Regions from separate parts of the Homo sapiens genome. Here regions 2 and 3 are each linked to region 1. Evidence: promoter capture Hi-C in 16 types of primary human blood cells and fetal thymus (Javierre and others, 2016). All regions are on one chromosome and are shown on one strand. Each heading gives the region's core, a stretch centred on a gene start or on the middle of the fragment in contact. The rest is flanking DNA. Distances are from core to core; before and after follow the strand shown. Region 1 holds the start of HIRA (histone cell cycle regulator). Region 2 overlaps CLTCL1 (clathrin heavy chain like 1). Region 3 has its middle 67 kb from the start of LINC00895.

Region 1 (2,803 bases), core at 283-2,782:
TACCCTCACACCTTCCATGCCAGGCAAAACACACAGACAGTGATACAGCACATCTACCGGGGTAACTCAGGATGAACAGTTTCAAAAGAAACACGTGAACCTAGTCCCTGAAAAATGGGAAAGATGTCACACAAGATGGAAGGAGAGAGAGGTGGCAGGAGGAGAACACACACATGATCAGTTCAGTTTAGTTGTGGTAGTAGAGAGCATCCTGGGACCAAATTCAAAACGAAAAAGCCACATGTTAAAATATCTATTCTCGCTCCTAAAGAAAACGGTAGCACCCTGTAGTCGCACTGCAAAGTAGAAATGAGGAACAAGACAGCATCAGGGTGACCCTTTGCCTGTCAACAGTCAGACAGGCCAGAATCAGGCCCTGGGCTGGAGGAGTCTCCCTGGGTTGATTTCTGTGCTACAGTGCTGTCAGCAGAGTGGGGTGGGGGAGGGGGAGGCGCGCTTTTTTCATCTACCCGGGGAGCAAACACCAACTCCTGCAGCAGTTCTGCCAACAAGGCAGAACTATGACGAAACTGATTACCACTAGCCTCTCTGTATCAGAGTCAAGATATGGGGTGGATGAGTCCGTTCCCCAAGGGTGTGCTTTGGAGCCACTGCCACAGAGCTAAGAAGCCCCTCTGCTAGAACACACCTGTGCCCTATCTGCCCAACCCTAGTTCACCCTGATGTCCCAGCTCAGCATTAATCGTGGATCCTTCGCGGGGGCCCGGGGCCCCCAAACCCTCCTATTTAGGGACCACAATTCCCCAACTGGGGGCACTGTCCCCAGATCCAGAGGGGCAGTAACAGTCCCTCTTGCAGATTTCGGATCTTCATCCTGCCACTGAAAGGCCACAAGGGGGATTTCATCCCGGTTTCACCTTCAGGACCGTCTGAGCACTTCTCGGGCGATGCAGACCAGTGGAAGGCACTGGCTGGCACCAAGGCCCGCTCCTGGGAGCCAGGCCGCGGCCCCTCCAAGGACCACAGGTGGGCAGCGGAAGACTCAGAGCAAGAGCCAGGGGCGAAGATGGCCCTCGCTGCGGTCAACCCGGAGCACGTGCTGGGGCTCACCAGCCTCTCCGCGCTGAGGACAAAGTCCGCTCCCGCCGGCTTCTTGGCTTGGGCACCGGGTACCGGGCGTCAGGGGCGAGACAGGCAGGACTTGCGCGCGCCCCGACTCGACTCCAGACCCCGACCCGACTCCGGGCTCGGCCTCCCGCGACCCCTGCGCGCACTCACCATTGTGGTTGACCCAGGTCGGCTTCAGGAGCTTCATTGTTCGGCCGCCGCCGCCGCCGGGCTGAGGCGAGCGCCGGGTCCCTCAGCGCGCCCGGGCCATGGAGCCACCGCCGCCGCTTCCTCCCGCGCCACCCGCCCTCCGGCCGCCGCCCGCCCCGCGCCCTCAGGGCCGCCGCGCCATCGCCGGCCCGCGCCCCCCTCCGCCGCCACAGCCGCCACCCGCGCTCGGCCGCCGCCGCCGCCACCACAGCCGCATCCCCTGCGCCGCTCCTCCTCAGGCGGCTCCCGGGCAACGCCGGAAGTCACGGCGCGCACCTGCCAAATCGCCCCGGCGGGAAACCGCTCCCCACGCGGACTGGGCCGCCCCGGCTCCTCCGCTGGCAGGGGCTTCGGGTCGGGCCCGGGCGCGGGCGCCCCAGAAAGGGCGGTTCGCCTGGACGGCGGACAGCGAGCGGGGCCTGCAGTTGCAACCCGGGCCGCCCGCAGAGGCAGGCGGGGCCCAGGTGGCGTGGACCGCCCGTCACCAGCTCTGCCTCGCCAGTCTGAGTCCGACTTATTAACTAGCTTCCGTCATTCATCAACACGCGCTATTGGGCATCTTGCGAGCGCCGGGCTCCGCGCCGGCGCCGGAATGCGATCCGGGCTTCGGACTCGAACGAATGCGGGGGACGAGCCAACCCTGGTGGGGGAGGCTGGGGCGGACGCGTTTATTAGAAGATCGGGGCCGTTTGCCTAGACATGAACATTTGGACTCGGAGGAGCAGAGGGACGCCCCCTCGGCCGCTCCGGCTGCACTGCGGAGCCGAGGCCCGCGCGAGGGCGCAGACCGACCAACCGGCTAGGGCCTGACTGGCTAGACTGTGCCCGCTGCAGAGGCGCGCTCCCAGCACAGGGCGGGGACGGAAGGGAGGACCCCGAGCCGCGTGAAACGCAAGGCCCTCGTGTGTGCGCAGCTGACACCCTAGGCGGGGCTGCGTCGGGGGCGGGGACAGGCGCGTCCCAGCCCACGCAGCCGGAACGCCTGAGCGCTGGGCGCCTGGTCTGCCGGACCTCAGCAGGGGGCACCGCGGGCCGGACTGTGGAGGGGCGCACGCCCGGAAGCGGCGAGGGTAGCCATGACGGCCTCCGTGCTGCGAAGTATCTCGCTAGCCCTGCGCCCGACTAGCGGGTGAGTGCGGACGCTGGCCGGATAGCGGAGTGCCCAGGGCGCGTGCGGGGTCTTCGCGACTGTCCGCCAGGACTCGCCTGTGCTCCCTGCTCGCCTCCCAGTCCACGAATATCTCAGGGATGAGCCATCTGGTCGTGACTCTTATGCATGAAAATCTGAGCACCCTGGCGAGCAGCGGTCCTGCTTAAGTCCTCTGTGGTCTGAACGAAAGATTTTGAAAAACCTTCCACGTTGACCTTGCTGTCATATCAAGTAGTTAGAAGTGCCCCGGGTTTGGGAGCATTGCAATTTTTTATTTTCCTGTGAAGTGGGAGAGAATCAGATATTTATTTATTTATTTGAGACAGAGTCTCGCTCTGTCGCCCAGGCTGGAGTGCAGTGGCGCGATTTCGGCTC
Region 2 (2,700 bases), core at 62-2,561, 150 kb before region 1:
ATAGGCGTGAGCCACAGGGCCTGGCCCAGGTTTGTTTTTTTTTTCACTAGTTAGTAGAAATAACCAAGGATTCCTGATCCCTAGTATATTATTCTGATAGGTAACCTAGCTACACATTTTTAAAAAAATTTTCTTTCTTTTTTTCTTTCTTTTGAGACAGAGTCTTGCTCTGTCGCCAAGGCTGGAGTGCAGTGGTGCAATCTTGGCTTACTGCAAAGTCTGCCTCCCACACTCAACCGATTCTCATGCCTCAGCCTCCCAAGTAGCTGGGAATACAGGTGTCCGCCACTGCACCTGGCTAATTTTTGTATTTTTAGTAGAGACAGGGTTTTGCCATGTTGGCCAGGCTGGTCTTGAACTCCTGGTCTCAAGTGATCCACTTTCCTCGGCCTCCCAAAGTGCTGAGATTACAGGCATGCACCACTGCACTGGACCTTAGCTACACATTTTAAATGGCATATATAAGATTTAACTAAAGAAAGGTAAAGAAGATGCTGTCTAATGATCCTTTTCAGTTCTCAAAGCCTGCAATTAAATCAATCAAAATTCAAATCTGACAATGGGGGCCAGACATGGTGGCTCATGCCTGTAATCCCAGCACTTTGGGAGGCCGAGGCGGGTAGATCACTGGAGGTCAGGAATTCGAGACCAGCCTGGTCAACATGGTGAAGCCCTGTCTCTAGTAAAAATAAAAAACTTAGCTGAGCATGGTGGCACACGCCTGTGGTCCCAGCTACTCAGGAGGCTGAGGAACAAGAATCGCTTGAAACCAGGAGGCAGAGGCTGGAATGAGCCAAGATTGTGCCACTGCACTCCAGCCTGGGTGACAGAGACAGACCCTGTCTCAAAAAAAAAAAAAAAAAAAAATCTGACACTGGGGAATATGCAAAAAGAAATTACTCATCTGATAGTCCTGTGGTTTCTATGTATAAGGGGCTTAAGGAAGATGTCTGCCTGGGAGGACTACAACTGTGTTTGTACAAGAGTATTAGTGAGAACATCAACTGCCTACATCAGTGAAGCCAGAATGCTTAAGTTGCACTGAACATCCCCATGTTTTCACACCTATGTGGACACCAATATTTTTTCTTTCTGTATCTGTCTCCTTCCCAGTCTCACTCACTGCTTTATCCTTGTGCCTAGCATATGGATGGTAAACAAATAGTAAAACAAATTACTTGTTTCAGGGCAGTAAAATTTAGTTCATCTACAGTTTTTAAAACATACTTTGAGGGCCTGGCGTGGCTGCTCACGCCTGTAATACCAGCACTTTGGGAGGCCGAGGCGGGTGGATCACCTGAGGTCAGGAGTTGGAGACCAGCCTGGCCAACATAATGAAACCCCATCTCTATAAAAATACAAAAATCAGCTGGGTGTGGTGGCGGGCACCTATAATCCCAGCTACCTGGGAGGCTGAAACAGGAGAATCACTTGAACACGGGAAGCGGAGGCTGCAGTGAGCCAAGACCACGCCATTGCATTCCAGCCTGGGCAACAAGAGTGAAACTCTGTTTCAAAAAAATAAATGGGCTGGGTGCAGTGGCTCACACCTGTAATCCCAGCACTTTGGGAGGCTGAGGTGGGCGGATCACGAGGTCAAGAGATTAAGACCATCCTGGCCAACATGGTGAAACCCCATCTCTACTAAAAATACAAAAATTAGCCAGGCATGGTGGCACGCACCTGTAGTCCGAGCTACTCAGGAGGCTGAAGCCAGGAGAATCGCTTGAACCGGGGAGGCAGAGGCTGCAGTGAGCTGAGATCATGCCACTGCACTCCAGCCTGGTGGACAGAGCGAGACTCTGTCTCAAGAAAATAAAATAAAAAACACATTTTATATTTGAAACACGCTGGGCGCGGTGGCTCACGCCTGTAATCCCAGCACTTTGGGAGGCCGAGGCAGGCGGATCACAAGGTCAGGAGATCGAGACCATCCTTGCTAACACGGTGAAACCCTGTCTCTACTAAAAATATAAAAAATTAGCTGGACGTGGTGGTGGGTGCCTGTAGTCCCAGCTACTCGGGAGGCTGAGGCAGGAGAATGGCGTGAACCCTGGAGGCAGAGGTTGCAGTGAGCCGAGATTGTGCCACTGCACTCCAGCCTGGGCAACAGAACAAGACTCCATCTTAAAAAAAAGAAAAAGAAAAAGAAAAAGAAACTTACCAAAGAGCCTTTCCTAGCCTAAAGAGGGAGCTCTGTAAATGAGGGCCTATGAAGAATGTTGACACTAAGGTCTCTTCCAGAACTTACATTCCAGGAGTAGGTTAGTTCAGGGATAGTTAACTACATTTATATAATGCTTTACAGAACTTCTCTCAAATTACACTATTACAGGTTTTCTTTATTTTAACACCAGTGCACAAGACTCTATATTTATCCCAGTTAAATGTCAACTAGCTGGATTCTGGCCTGTCAAGATATATCCGATTCTAATTTCATCACTGAACTTTGCTATCCCAGCTTTGTGGCATCCTTCTTCAGCCTGCCAAGAGTGATGGTCATCTCTCTGGCATGGAGGCCAGCAGCAGGCCTCAAGAGAAGTGGAAGAAAATGTGGGAGAAGAGCCTGCAAACTCAGTAAAGTCTCAGTGAAGAAGCAAAGGAAGGAAAAATCAGACAGATTGCAGAAAGATTCCCCCTTAGAGAAGGGGGTGACAGGGTGCCAGCAACTACTACCCTAGGGAATACTGATAAACAACA
Region 3 (2,921 bases), core at 69-2,568, 200 kb after region 1:
CCACCGCTAGAGGGGGCATACAGATGGGCAGGTTGTGGGGCTCAGGCCCCACAGCAGGGTCTAGAGATGAATGTTTACAGCTGAAGCCCCAGTTGGCGTATGCTACTGTTTGTTCTTTTAGTTTTGCTGTCTATAGGCGGCTTGTGTTAACCAGCTCAATTAGACCCTCTACTTGTCGCGTGGACAGAGGGCTTTCTGTATCCCGGGTTCTTGCCTTGGTGTACCGGAAGAGTCGGATCACACATGAGCTTGGATAATGGGTGCAAGGTTTTATTGAGTGGAAGTAGCTCTCAGCAGATGGGGGAACCAGAAGACAGATGGTTTTCCCCTGGAGTGGGGCAGCTGGGTGGCCCAGACACTCTTCCGACTCCCGGCCAAACTCCACGTCATTCCGCGATCAGTGGCATGCCTGTGCCTGTGGGCGCATTCCTCTCGCCAGCCGGCCACTTGTGGATTCCTCCGCCAGTGTGCTCCTCTCCACGTCCAGCCGCTCCTGTCTCTGCCTTGCTAGGGTCTGGGTTTTTATAGGCGCCCGATGGGGCGTGGCAGCAAGAGCGGTCTTGGAAAATGTAAGGCAGGAAATGCCTGTCCTCACTTAGGTCCGTGGGGGTGGAGCCTTAGTAAGAAACGGTCTTTGCTTTGGGAGGCCAAAGTGGGAGGATCACTTGAGCCCAGGAGTTTGAGACTAGCCTGGACAACACAATAAGATCCTGTTTCTACCAAAAAAATTAACCAGGTGTGGTGTTGTGTACCTGTAGTCACAGCTACTGAGAAGGCTGAGGTAGCAGGGTCAGAAAACGCCCTCCTATACCCGCACTTCCCTTGGCACTTCCCTTACCCCCTTCCGTATCATTTAAAGGGACCATGCTTCTCCCTTCTCAGCATTTCCGTATCAGTTTCAGAGCAGTGGATCTGCCATGGTGGCAGGGATTCCCCAGGATTCTGCCTAAGCGGGGTCTGAGACTAACTGGGTTCTAGGCCCCGAACCCCCTCCACTCCCAGGCTCCAGTGACCTGGGGTCAGCATGAGGCTTGGGAAGGAGTGGCTGTGTTCCATGGCACAGGTCTGCCCTTACATTGGTGGTCTTTGGGCTGCACCAGGCAATTGGTGACGGTGCTGCACAGGGCCATGAATCTCCTCATTGTCCAGTAGCCCAAGTAGGTTACGACAGCCCTCCGTCTCTGGAGAGCTGAGTCCTGACATCTCGACCCCCGGGACAGAGGGAGAGGACGATGGCAATAATGTTGCCCCTGTGGCCCACCAGGCCCGCACCTTGGCAACACACACCAGAAGTCATGGCAAGTGTTCTTATAAGAAGAAGAGATTAGGCCTATAATCCCAGTGCTTTGGGAGGCCAAAATGGGAGGATCGCTTGAGCCCAGGAGTTTGAGACTAGCCTGAACAGCAGAGTGAGATCCCATTTCTACCAAAAAAAAGTTAGCCAGGTGTGGTCTTGTATATCTGTAGTCACAGCTACTCAGAAGGCTGAGGTAGCAGGGTCACTTGAGCCCAGGAATTCAAGACCAGCCTGGGCAATATAGCAAGACCCTGTCTCTACAAAAAATTCAAAAATTAGCCTGGGACTATGCCTGTAGTCCCAGCTACTTGGGAGGCAGAGGTGGGAGGATCATTTGAGCCCTGCAGTGAGCTACGATCATGCGACTGTGCTGCAGCCTGGATGACAGAGCAAAACCCTGTCTCAAAGAAGGAGAAGAAGAGATTAGGACCCAGACAGGCACAGAGGAAAAGGAAAGACCCCGTGAGAACGCAGGGAGAGAACGGCCATTGACAAGCCAGGGAGAGAGGCCTGAGAAGGACCAACCCTTCCAGCCTCCAGGACTGCAAGGAGTAGGTGTCTGTTGTTTAAGGCGCCCAGCCTGTGGTACTTCATCATGGCAGCCCCAGCAGACTAACACACACGGATTCTGTCCTTCAGGAGCCAGTATTTGTAGATAAATCATGACTGAATGGCAGTGGTGAGCAAAACTTAATGGCCCTTGCCAGCTTCCAAACGCCCAGCGCTTTCTGCGTGCACCCTCAGGCAGTGGCATCGGGCACACAACCATTCCTAGCTCAGGAAACCAAGGGGAAGAGGTTCCGCTGCAGGCCCGGGAGCCCAGCCGATCCCAAAGACTAAAGACCTAAGCCCCGGGCTTCCCAGAGGAGGGGCACAGCCTTTTGAAAGCAAGAGGAACTTCTGACAAGGTGAGCAGGGTGAGGAAGTTATTGATTTTGATTTTGATTTCCCCTGAATTCTCTATAAAAATAGAGGGGGCAACCAGAACCCAGGTAGTGAAACCAAAGCCCATGTTGGAATTTACAACCTAGTGAGGGGAGGCCGCGGCCTCGGGGCGAATCCATGAGGGGTTGGCATGTGTGGTGGGGGGAGTGCTGGGGGAGACTGGGGGACATGGCAGCGGGATGGGGAGGGGAAGATAACACCAAGCAGAGGAGAACGAGGACGCAAGGAGAAGGAGACGGCGGACTGCAGAACGAGCAGAGGAGCGCAACAGATGCTGGCAGGCCGCAGAGAAGGGGCACCCTCCTTTAAGTTTAAGGACGCAAATTTCAAGGTCAAATCCTATGCAAAGGATTATAAGTGTATTACAAGAAAAAAGAAAATAGGACGAATAATGTAAAATGGATGAAAACTATGCCCTAATCATCATGTCCAAACAAACTTTAAACAAGAAACTGATACAAGATACGTGACAACATACATACATTTCTCTGAACTTAAAACTTTTAAAAAATTGAAAATGAATGGCAAGAAATTAGGAAAGGGTTGTAATGAATATTTAAATATCATTTCAGAGATGAATATTAAACAAGAAAGACAGGAGCAAATAGACAAGGGCCTAAGAGAAATAGAAGTTGAAAAGAAAGAAAATCTTTGAGCATAAAGAAAAGAGAAACACGTA

Evidence for each region. The method cuts DNA at HindIII sites, captures the fragments that hold promoters and counts their contacts. A CHiCAGO score of 5 or more calls a contact.
Region 2: a contact is called between a fragment that was not itself captured here and the fragment with the promoter of HIRA in region 1, in 1 of 17 cell types (total B cells). The highest score is 5.9, in total B cells.
Region 3: a fragment that was not itself captured here is called in contact with the fragment with the promoter of HIRA in region 1 in 2 of 17 cell types (naive CD4 T cells and total CD4 T cells); the score reaches 7.3 in naive CD4 T cells.

The regions. Positions count from the first base shown.
Region 1 is chr22:19,430,201-19,433,003 of GRCh38, forward strand. HIRA (histone cell cycle regulator) reads right to left here and starts at 1,533. Exons shown (of 25, transcript NM_003325.4): 1 at 1,240-1,533. The coding sequence starts at 1,276. MRPL40 (mitochondrial ribosomal protein L40) reads left to right here and starts at 2,345. Exons shown (of 4, transcript NM_003776.4): 1 at 2,345-2,407. The coding sequence starts at 2,355. RefSeq lists enhancers at 1-129, 370-439, 388-1,135 and silencers at 1,420-1,819, 2,110-2,419. The HindIII fragment of the contact is 6,181 bases long and covers 1-2,803 here.
Region 2 is chr22:19,283,146-19,285,845 of GRCh38, forward strand. The region is part of intron 1 of CLTCL1 (clathrin heavy chain like 1); the gene reads right to left. Among named protein-coding and RNA genes, the nearest start is that of CLTCL1, 7.2 kb to the right of the region's middle. The HindIII fragment of the contact is 8,535 bases long and covers 1-2,700 here.
Region 3 is chr22:19,632,372-19,635,292 of GRCh38, forward strand. No RefSeq gene overlaps it. Among named protein-coding and RNA genes, the nearest start is that of LINC00895, 67 kb to the left of the region's middle. The HindIII fragment of the contact is 5,938 bases long and covers 1-2,921 here.